Regions from separate parts of the Homo sapiens genome. Here regions 1 and 2 are each linked to region 3. Evidence: promoter capture Hi-C in 16 types of primary human blood cells and fetal thymus (Javierre and others, 2016). All regions are on one chromosome and are shown on one strand. The core of a region is centred on a gene start or on the middle of the fragment in contact, and the rest is flanking DNA. Distances in the headings are between cores, read along the strand shown.

Region 1 (3,719 bases), core at 142-2,641, 58 kb before region 3:
GAGCACTGATCTTAGGAGCAGTTAAGGGAGGGGCAGACTCTGGTAGCCTCCAGCCGCGTGACTCCTAAACCATAATTTCTAATCTTGTGGCCAATGTTAGGGCCCTAGTCCCCAGGCAAGAAGGAGGTTTGTTTTGGGAAAGGGCTGTTACCGTCTTTTTTTTAAACTATAAACTAAGTTCCTCCCAAAGTTAGCTCAGCCCATGCCCAGGAATGAACAAGGATGGCTTGGAGGTTAGAGGCAAGATGGAGTCATTTAAATTGGACCTATTTCACTGTCTCAGTCGCACTTTTGCAAAGGTGGTTTCACTGTTACTATTCATCTCCTTTTGGTCATCTGCTCAGTGTTCTGCTGGGAGCCCTAAGACAAATAAATCATCTCCAACTCTCTCTCTTTTGCCCACCTATCCCCACAGACGCATACTTCTAGTATTTAGGGAGTGTCTTAGTTTGATCTGGCTGACATAACAAAATACCGTAGGCTGGGTGGCTTAAACAACAGAAATTCATTTCTCAAGTTCTGGAGGCTAGAAGTCCAAGATGAAAGTGCCAGCCAATTTGGTTTCCGATGGGAGCTGTTTTATGGATTGCCACCTTTTCACTGTGTCCTCACACAGCAGAGAGAGTGAGCTCTCTAGGGTCTCTTCCTACAAAGACACTGATCCAATCAAATCAGTGTTCCAGCCTTATAACCTCCTTTAACTTTAATTACGTCCTTATTCCACATACAGCCACATTGGGGGTTAGGGTTTCAACATAAGAATTTTGTGGAGGACACAATTCAGTCCATAGCAGGGAGTCAGTACAAAAATCAGCAAATCACTTCTAACCAGTGATGGCTAGAAAATGCTTAACAACTGGCAGGGGGTAGTAAGGGCATAGTGAGGGCTGGTGCAGATTGCGGAAGATTCCTGCAGGAATAGAAGAGCCTAAAATTTCAGAACTAAATGCCTTTGGGCATTAGGACACATTTGAGACACAGAAGGTACTTTTCCAGTACCTTCCATGTCTTACAAGAAGAACCTGAGATCCAGCAAGAAGTGACTCCTTTAGGTCATAGAATTAGTGGCAGAGCTAGGACTAGAAACCAGATCTCCTCATGCCTTCTCTTTGTTGGTGGTTCCCAAAGGTTGGTCTGTGGATATTTTACATAAGAGTTATCTTTCCATATTGATATGGTTTGGCTGTGTCCCCACCCAAATATCATCTTGAATTATAACTCCCACAAGTCGTGGAAGGGACCTAGTTGGAAGTGATTGAATTATGGGGGTGAGTCTTTCCTGGACTGTTCTCATGATAGTGAATGAGTCTCATGAGATCTGATCATTTTAAAAATGGGAGTTTCTCTGCACAAGCTCTCTTTGCCTGCTGCCATCCATGTAAGAGGTGTTACTCTTTGTTACTCCTTGCCTTCCACCATGATTGTGAGGCTTCCCCAGCCATGTGGAACTGTAAGTCCACTAAATCTTTTTCTCTTGGAAATTGCCCAGTCTTGGGTATGTCTTCATCAACAGCATGAAAACAGACTAACACATACAGCATACTATAAAAGAAGGTAAGTGTGTTTACTTATTTTAACTTATTTAGGACTTCTTCCCCTCGTGAATAACATCAAATTAAAATGCCCCATTCCTTTCACATTGGAGAATAGTCTAATCCACACCATCATGTACCACGCCTGTCATTATTCTTCTAATTAAAACCAGTAGTAGGTCTGAGAGGAAAATCAATTGCCAAGGTGGAAAAAGAATAAAAATATTCTTTTTCTCATAACCATAACTTCCTTTAACTTTAACTCATCTAAAAGTAGGCCCACATCTGGTATTTTGTTGCTGTTGTTGTAGAGATAGGGACTCCCTATGTTGCCCAGGCTGGTCTCAACCTCCTGGCCTGAATCAATTTTTCCTTCCACCTTGGCCTCAAAGAGTGTTGGGATTAAAGGCATTAGCCACTGTCCCCAGCAGGTATGATAGTTTTTAAAACTCTAAGGTAGTTTTTAGGCCTTCACCAGAGAAGATAAGGATCTGTAGGGGAGACAAAATTTTCCCTCTACCATCATAGGGTTTTTGGCTAGGTCTGAGAATTAAACTGACATAAAACTGATTAACAGAAGAAAAGCATACAAATTTATTTAGTAAAAGGTTTGCATGACACAGGGGCAAAGGAAATGAAGACTCAACAAAGCAGTGAGAGTCAAACATTTAATACTGAGTTGGACAAAGGGTAGTAGATTGTAAAAACATGACAAGGCAAAGGGGCTTGGGGCAGGGTAATTAACTGGGTGGTGAAGTCACTGGGAAGATAAGGGTTAGTTAATTGAACAAGGTTTGTTTGCACGGATTTCTCTTGGCTTTGCCTTCCCATCCTTGATAACAATAACCTTACTTTCTTCCTGGTATAGGGATTTCCTCCTGGTGTAGGGAAAGCATCTTCCACATGAGAATTTTATCTCCTGCTCACAGGAAGAAAGAGGGGGGTCACAGTGACCCTCTTGCACCTGCTGCTTTTTCAAGTATCTTTAGCTCAAAATAATTCTTATGCCTAAGAGACATATTTTAGGGTGGTATGTCCTGAACTCCTTTGGACCAGCAAAGGTAGGTATCTAAGTTCCAGACGTTCTCTCATTGCCTTCCCCATCAATTATTTACAGATTAAGAAAGAAACTCATATATTCACTGTTGTTCTCTTTGTTAACATTCCTTCCGGTCAGAAGCACAGCTGCTTATTTAAAAAGACCAGAATCCAGGTGTGGTGGCTCATGCCTGTAATCCCAGCACTTTGGGAGGCCAAGGCAGGTGGATCACAAGGTCAGGAGTTCGAGACCAGCCTGGCCAACATGGTGAAACCCTGTCTCTACTAAAAATACAAAAATTAGCCAGACATGGTGGCGGACATCTGTAATCCCAGCTACTTGGGAGGCTGAGGCAGGAGAATCTCTTGAACCCGGGAGGGAGAGGTTGCAGTGAGCCAAGATAGCACCTCAGCACTCCAGTTACTGAAGTCAGAAGATCTGAATTCAAGATCCGACCTCTGGCCTGGGAAACAGTACATCTCTGCGCCTCCATATCCATCCATAGAGTGAAAATGATATGAACTCCCCTTGTTTTCCAGTACTCAAAAGGACTGATGCATGAGAAAAGGCCTGGTAAACATAGTGCTTCAGTATTTACCAATGTATCTTCCAGGGAGGAAAAGTAATAGTTTAAAATAGACCAGTAGAAAGAACAAGTCAAGACAGTTTTGTTGATAATCTGCTTGCAAAGTATACTAATTTCCAGTTTTGAGAACTGATCATCACAGAGAAGATAAGCAAAATGTGATATATCTGTCTGAGTCTAAGATCAACATTAGACCGATTCATTTTGATTTTGTCATATATAGGCAAATGGTAGTAACCTCCTTAGATGCTTCTGGATTTCCCACAGATCTTAAGAAAATAAGTTTACCAAAAATTGCATTGTTTTTGACAATGGGATTAATTTACTGCTTTCTCCACAATATTATAGTTTTAGATTTTTTTTAAATCACAGAAAATATCTCAAGAAAGAAAAAATGACTTTAAGAATTTTAAAACTCTGAGTAAATATGTATTGAATAGTGCATAAATTTTTTCATGGCAATATCTATGGTTTGCTCAGTCTCACTTTACATTAAAGAATTGAAACCCATGCATTTTCTACTCACAGTCACTAAAATCCTGTGGCTATTTTCAGATAAGCT
Region 2 (3,929 bases), core at 1,236-3,735, 38 kb after region 3:
AGGTTAAATGAAGCAGGAAAAATACATAGATGCAGCCTTGCAGCCTCTCCAGATGTTTGGGGATAATATTCCAGATAGAAATATTGATCCCTTGGATTAGGTAACTAGTCATAATGAAGAAAATTAGTCTTAAAACCTTACGGAAATCTTTTAACTTGAATAAAAGTAAAGAAGAAACTGATTTCATGGTAGTACAACAACCATCGCTAGCCAGTGACTTTGGAAAAGATGATTCCTTATTTGGTAGCTGCTATGGTAAAGATATGGCCAGCTGCGATATCAACGGTGAAGATGAAAAAGGCGGAAAAAACAGATCAAAAAGCGAGAGCCTGATGGGTACGCTAAAAAGGCGGCTTTCTGCAAAACAGAAGTCAAAAGGCAAGGCGGGCACACCCTCTGGGAGCTCTGCCGACGAGGACACCTTCTCCTCCTCCTCAGCACCCATAGTCTTTAAAGACGTGAGAGCTCAGAGGCCGATAAGGTCCACGTCGCTCCGCAGCCATCACTACAGTCCCGCGCCGTGGCCTCTGCGGCCCACAAACTCCGAGGAGACCTGCATCAAGATGGAGGTGAGAGTCAAGGCCTTGGTTCACTCTTCCAGCCCGAGTCCAGCCCTGAATGGCGTCCGGAAGGATTTCCACGACCTCCAGTCTGAGACCACGTGCCAGGAGCAAGCCAATTCACTGAAGAGCTCGGCTTCTCATAATGGAGACCTGCATCTTCACCTGGATGAACATGTGCCTGTCGTTATTGGACTTATGCCTCAGGACTACATTCAGTATACTGTGCCTTTAGATGAGGGGATGTATCCTTTGGAAGGATCACGGAGCTATTGTCTGGACAGCTCTTCTCCCATGGAAGTCTCTGCGGTTCCTCCTCAAGTGGGAGGGCGCGCTTTCCCCGAGGATGAGAGTCAGGTAGACCAGGACCTAGTTGTCGCCCCAGAGATCTTCGTGGATCAGTCCGTGAATGGCTTGTTGATTGGCACCACGGGAGTCATGTTGCAGAGCCCGAGAGCGGGTCACGATGATGTCCCTCCACTCTCACCATTGCTACCTCCAATGCAGAATAATCAAATCCAAAGGAACTTCAGTGGACTCACTGGCACAGAAGCCCACGTGGCTGAAAGTATGCGCTGTCATTTGAATTTTGATCCGAACTCTGCTCCTGGGGTTGCAAGAGTTTATGACTCAGTGCAAAGTAGTGGTCCCATGGTTGTGACAAGCCTTACAGAGGAGCTGAAAAAACTTGCAAAGCAAGGATGGTACTGGGGACCAATCACACGTTGGGAGGCAGAAGGGAAGCTAGCAAACGTGCCAGATGGTTCTTTTCTTGTTCGGGACAGTTCTGACGACCGTTACCTTTTAAGCTTGAGCTTTCGCTCCCATGGTAAAACACTTCACACTAGAATTGAGCACTCAAATGGTAGGTTTAGCTTTTATGAACAGCCAGATGTGGAAGGACATACGTCCATAGTTGATCTAATTGAGCATTCAATCAGGGACTCTGAAAATGGAGCTTTTTGTTATTCAAGGTCTCGGCTGCCTGGATCTGCAACTTACCCCGTCAGACTGACCAACCCAGTGTCCCGGTTCATGCAGGTGCGCTCGTTGCAGTACCTGTGTCGTTTTGTTATACGTCAGTATACCAGAATAGACTTAATTCAGAAACTGCCTTTGCCAAACAAAATGAAGGATTATTTACAGGAGAAGCACTACTGAAAGATTGAGAACCCTGCATCTTGCACTTTGGGAATAAGAACAAGAGATTGAAATACAGTTTACAAACTTTCATTGCCATCAAAATCTTTTGCTGCCATAACTATTTCAGTTTTATGTGTAAAAGAGTCATCAGTTTGTTTAGGGGTGGGGAAGTGTCAGCAAGGTGTCTTGGGTTTATTTTGGTTCTTTAAAAAAGGGAAGTCTTGAGGTTTTAGAGGTGTGAATTATGTTTCATCAATGTGCAGAATAATCACAATGTGAATTATCAAATTCTCCTCAATGCCCCCCCCGCCCAGTCCTTTGCTGCTATCCACTGTGATTTTTATGCATTAAAAGCACATTTCATGTGTATTCAACCCTAAGTAAAGTTGAATGAAACTTAACAGAATGGAAATTGCTATGTCTTTTTAAATGGTCCATTTTCAAAAGACAGTGTTGAATAAACATACCTGTGTGATAAAACACAGAATTTACATATACACTGAAGATGAGTTTTTAATCTCTTACTTTAAAAAGATTTATTTAGAATCGTGAATTGACATAATCTTGGGTAATGGAACGGAGATCTGCAACATATCTTTTAACAACACTTTTTTCTAAATTATTTCTAAGGTTGTGCTAATTCTTTTGGTTGTGAAAAGTTGAATTTTTCTGTTGCCTTCGTTTTCATCTTCTAGTTTGTCTATTTTAATAAATGGCCTTACATTAAAAAATTGTAAAGAAATGTATACCACCAATTTAGAAATTGTTGCCTTTTCTGTAATTAAACTCGGGTACAAATTGGCATAACATGAAAACCTATGGAACTAGAATTATTATTAAAGAAATATTAGATGATCATAGCTTCCTGTGATAGCATTTTTTTGTGTGTTACCTATCCTTTTGGTAAAATGTTTTATCTGTGATTTCTTTAGCTTAGTCAACATTTTCTTGGGTGAACTTGATTGTCAACTAATTTTCATAAATGGACTGGATTCTCTTGCAACATTAATGTTTATAAAAAGTTTTAAATTGATTTGAATAGAAAGAAAACATTGTTTTAAAGTTGGATTTATATTTTTCTTCTATGTAGTTACTATAAAAGTGTGCTGGATTTGACCAATCCTTACCCCCACTATAAAGAGAACCCGTGATGACTTTAGTTTAAAAATTGTGGAAATTGTGGAGCAATTTTTCTCACAATGTGAGAAAAATTCTAAACCATATTAGATAATGTGGAAGTCATATTGTCTATCATATATACTGCCATTTAAAAATAGGTTTTTAAAATTTAGCTAAGTCTTAAGTAATTTGCCGTTGCTAATAATTTTATCTCCTTGAGTCGGTTGTTGGGGAGAGATGTTATATTCAATAATTTTTAGTTATTTTGTAATGCAGAGTGTTTATTCATTTCACAGTTCTGCAATGGATGTAGTATTTTGGGATTGCCCTGTCCAGAAAATTTTCAGCTACACACCTTTAAAGGAAAATGTTTCTATCTCAGATGAAACATGTAATTTGGGATGGTTCTTCCTTTGTCACTTAAAGGAAGAGATAGGAAAAGTCTCTTACCCACTTTAAACATGAGGGTAAAGGTTTAGGTCAAACTTACTGGCTTTGTCATTCAAGCATATCTGAATCCTCACTTTTTTCTCTTTGCTTTTTAGGGTCAGAACTGAGATATTACCAAGAAAAGGCACAATGCCATAATATTATGGTGTTATGGTATTTTGACTTAAAGGGGAAAAGGTACTTAATTTTGGTGGGATGTTGATTGTACCTTGTTAAAAAGACTCTCATTTTCTCATATGTTTTCTCCTAATAAGATGGAATATGGAGTATACTGTAATAATATAAGTGTTCATTATAAGCTATTTGGATTAAGAACTATTGCAGAGTTGTAAGCTTGTTATCAAATTAATGCAAGACATTTAAACTATTTTTTTGCAAAACTATTTATTTTTAAAACAACTTAAAGTATATCTAGGGTGAGTTAAAAGTCCCTGTGCATCTATATTAGATGGCAGGTTTTGTCACAGAGTCACTGTGTATTAATAATAAATGTTGAAATGGCTTCTCCGTGTCTCCAGAAGCATTTACATGTCCTCCTTGTGAGATCATGGTGCACAGAGGTCTTTGGACTGCCCTGAACCCGTCTTATGTGGACATAACCTATTCCCTTCGTTTTCTCATCATGCCATGTGTTTAAGATCTACCCGCTTAGTGTCA
Region 3 (3,692 bases), core at 283-2,782:
ACTGTGTTGGCCAGGCAGGTCTCGATCTCCTGATCTTGTGATCCGCCCGCCTCGGCCTCCCAAAGTGCTGGGATTACAGGCATGAGCCACCGTTAATTACTGTTTGTTGTGTTTCCCACTAACTTCTCTGACAATTCTATTTCAACCTACATTCTCCAATCACTGTAATTAGATATTTGAGAATTGTGTTGCATTTCAATCACGGTAACAATAATGGTAGTATTTTATTAATAAATTCAAGTAAAAACTGAAGATGACAATGATAGTGTATGATACATGACATCAACTTTGCATCACCTAAAGATCCAACTTTTCTGTTATGAATCTAGATTTCTTGGGGAAATCCAGATTGTATATTGGACATAGGAATTAAGATTACTGGACTTGAACTTTTTTGTAACTAACAACTTTATTGAGATATAATTCGGGTACCAACTCATACCTGAACAGCTTTTTAGACTTTTTTTCTAGCCCTTTTTTCTCTGTCCTTTCGGTTTTCTTTTAAAAAGGTCCATACTATTCAAGAAACACAACTTTTAAAGTCCACAATAATTCTCATTAGATTTTAATATTTATCTCCCCCCAAGCTTTACTGAAATACTAATGATATTCATTTTTTTAACCACTTTTCATCGTAAGAGAAATACAAATTTTCCTATTGATTCTTATGCACAAAAATCAAGTTTTTGTGGTACTGCTATACATTAGTAGTATGTTCAGCCAGTTTCCAAAGAAATTAGTCAAGATCCCAACATGCAACTTGTATACCACACTACCTTGGAATTCGGCGGCACAAACAACTATTCCTTGTACAAAACCTCCCTGAAAACGACTAAATGGAAAAGTGGATGGCTTGAAACAAGGAATGTTTGGTTTTTTAAAAAGCATTTTTCACAATTTAGTCGAGGTGTGGGGAGGGTTTCCCCACTTGTGGCTCTGCACAGCGTGCGCGCGCGTCTGTCCTGGGGTCCCCTCCCTGCGGGGACGAGGCCGGGGTCCCCGCGCGAGCCCAGCGGACCTGGGCAGTGCGGGGGTCCGACCGCCCGCCACAGGGGGACAGGGACCGCAGCCGCCAAATCCGCGGGGCCGGGGAACGAGGAGACTTTCCTTTCCGCGTTAGCCGGGGCCACCCCCGCCAGAGGGAAAGCACCAAAGGAAAAACCAGGACAGGGACTCTGGGGGCCGGAGGAGCGGCCTCCTGCAGGCACCAGCGGAGGGGCGCGGGGGTGGGGGAAGGGATCAGGGCTCCGCGCTCCGTCCGCCCCACGACCCCGGCCCGGCGCCCCTCCCCTCGGAACCCCCACTTAGTGCCCGGCCCCCGCCCCGCCCCGCGCGGCCCCCGGCCTCAGCCCCGCGCGCCCCGACGCCCCGCCTGCGCCGCGGGCCCGAGTAGTGGACGGGGGGCGGCCCGCTCGGCTCCTCCGCACCCGCTCCCCGCTCGGGCCGAGGCGCCGCGGCCGCGCGCCCCTCCTGGAGGAGGAGGAGGAAGGAGGCGGGAGGAGGAGTTGCCGAGAGGAGAAGGCGAGCGCGGCAGTCGCGCCGGCGCTGGGCGAGGAAGCGGAGCCGGGCCGCCTCCGGGTAAGCGTCCGGGGAGCTCGGGCGGGAGGCAGGGGCAGGGCTTCGCCGTCCGCCTCCGGGTCGCCCGCGGTCCGGGACACGGCTGGTTTTCGCCTCGGAGTGCAGGGGGCGGATCCGGCGCGGGCCGGGCCAGGGAGGCCGCCGGGCGCGGGGCTGCAGCGACGGGTCTGGGTCAGCGCGAGGCCCTGCGCCGTCTCGGCGGGTGCGCGGGCGGGGGCCAGGGCCGGGGAACGGGGGCCGGGGCCAGTCCCGGGAGCGGGGACGCGGAAACCGGGAAGCCGGGGCCGGGGCGCGGCGGCCCCTGAAGGGCCGAGGCCTGCGCGGCCGCGGACGGCTCTTCTCGACCCCTCGGCCTCTTCGGCCGCGGCGCGCCGGCCTGGGCCGCCGCCTTTGTTGCCCGCAGCTCGCCGGGGAGAGGCCGGGGCTCCGCGAGGCCTGGGCAGCGGCGCGGGGCCTGCGCGGCTCTGCGCCCCGGCCGGGTCCCTCCTCGGACCTCCGCGGGCTCGGGCTCGGGCTCGGGGTCGGGGCGCGGCGAGGCCGCAGGCGCGAGGGCGGGCCTGGGGCGCGGCGCTGGGACTCGGGGACGCCCCCGCCCCACCGCGAGGTCGCGCCGGCGCTGGTGGAGGTGCAGGCCGGGGCTGCTCTGCGGCTGAAGGTGCCGCCGGCCGGCTGCGCACTCACCCGGGTGTAGGGACCGGACGATTGTGGAATTTAAACCGCTCCTGGGACCGACACGGGCCTGAATTTTCAGTTTGCTTCGGGAGTTGGCAACTTCAGGTACACCCTTGTGGCTCACGGAGCAGAATTATGGACGTTTCTCAGGGGCAGATCCTGGCACAAAACTTGGGATATGTGCAGTAGTGTGTGTGCCAACTTAACGTTCAGTTGGAATGTGAAATTGGGGTTCCCATCCCCACTGTTTGGAATGAAGGGCCAGGTGGGAATATGTGGCGGGACTCAGTCTTCCGGTAGCAAAATAAATAATGTTGAATTCATTTCAACAAATGTTTCTGCAACGTCTGCCCGGATAAGGCAGCATGCACTGTGCATGAGGACAGAGAACACAGTAATGACAGAAATAACGTGAATTACACACTGAACGTCTCCCAGAGACATTTTAAATTTACTGTGTTCCTTGGGATAAAGATACATTTGGAATCAAACAAAAGTAAACGTTCTACTTCAAGATAAAATATCTGACATCTTCTCAACCACTGAAGGTAGCAATTTATCTTGACTTGTTTTTAACCAACTACCACAACATTAAATCCATTTAGCTTACTTGAATGAACGAATCTTAATTGTAATATTTAATGCTGTGGACAGCCTTACTTAAAAACACGAATGGCATTGCTCACCAGGTTTCACAAAAACCGGAAAAAAAGTCTGTAATACTTTTCCGTGGGCTTTCTAATTTCTCCTCCTAGTGGGTTTTGTGCACGCGTGGATATGGTAAGGTCTAGGATCCATTCAGCTCTAAATTAAATATGTGGCCTTAACCCTTTGGTTCAAACACCCTCCCTAAGCCTGCCTTGGTGCCTTGGAGGAACCTGGTTCGTGGACAGTGGATTTGATAAGGATTCCTAGAAGAACTTCTATCTGGAGTTTGGCCAGGGCTTTCCGCTTGTGCCTGGGTAAGGGTCAGCCAGGTATTCACCCGAATCTATACTTTTTTAGAACTCCATTCAGCATCTCTTTTGAAACACTGTTTCTCTCTTACCTTTATCGTTATCTTCTAAATTACCCTCTAAATTGGTAGTCTTGCCCCTTTCTCTTCAGCAGGGCCTCCCACCCAAGCGCACACCCTCGGGTCATCCCATGACCCCCTCTCTTGGTGGGCCCCCCACCCCGCAGGGAGTGGCAGGGAAGGAATTTGAGAGCCATTGACTGGGCGTAGGGTGGAAAATGGTGCTGTACTGACTGGGTTTCTAGTCATTTTGCCTTCCAGTGTTTTTCTTCATTCTTGCATTAGAACTGGAAAAGGTGTTCTTTTAATGGCCCCCCTTTTTTTAGGAAACAGAAAGCAAGTATCTTCTTTTTTGTTTTTCCTCTGTCACCCAGGGTGGAGTGCAGTGGTGCAATCATGGCTCACTGCAGCCTTGAACTCCTGGGCT

Evidence for each region. Contacts are between HindIII fragments. The CHiCAGO score rates a contact against its expected background, and 5 or more counts as called.
Region 1: a fragment that was not itself captured here is called in contact with the fragment with the promoter of SOCS6 in region 3 in 3 of 17 cell types (M0 macrophages, M1 macrophages and M2 macrophages); the score reaches 10.0 in M0 macrophages.
Region 2: a contact is called between a fragment that was not itself captured here and the fragment with the promoter of SOCS6 in region 3, in 2 of 17 cell types (M0 macrophages and M1 macrophages). The highest score is 6.7, in M0 macrophages.

The regions. Positions count from the first base shown.
Region 1 is chr18:70,230,148-70,233,866 of GRCh38, forward strand. No RefSeq gene overlaps it. Among named protein-coding and RNA genes, the nearest start is that of RTTN, 26 kb to the left of the region's middle. The HindIII fragment of the contact is 4,648 bases long and covers 1-3,715 here.
Region 2 is chr18:70,324,556-70,328,484 of GRCh38, forward strand. SOCS6 (suppressor of cytokine signaling 6) reads left to right here. Exons shown (of 2, transcript NM_004232.4): 2 at 1-3,929. The coding sequence starts at 114. The coding sequence ends at 1,721. Among named protein-coding and RNA genes, the nearest start is that of LINC01909, 8.9 kb to the right of the region's middle. The HindIII fragment of the contact is 2,236 bases long and covers 1,368-3,603 here.
Region 3 is chr18:70,287,513-70,291,204 of GRCh38, forward strand. It overlaps SOCS6 (suppressor of cytokine signaling 6), which reads left to right and starts at 1,533. Exons shown (of 2, transcript NM_004232.4): 1 at 1,533-1,578. RefSeq lists a silencer at 1,369-2,268. The HindIII fragment of the contact is 7,416 bases long and covers 586-3,692 here.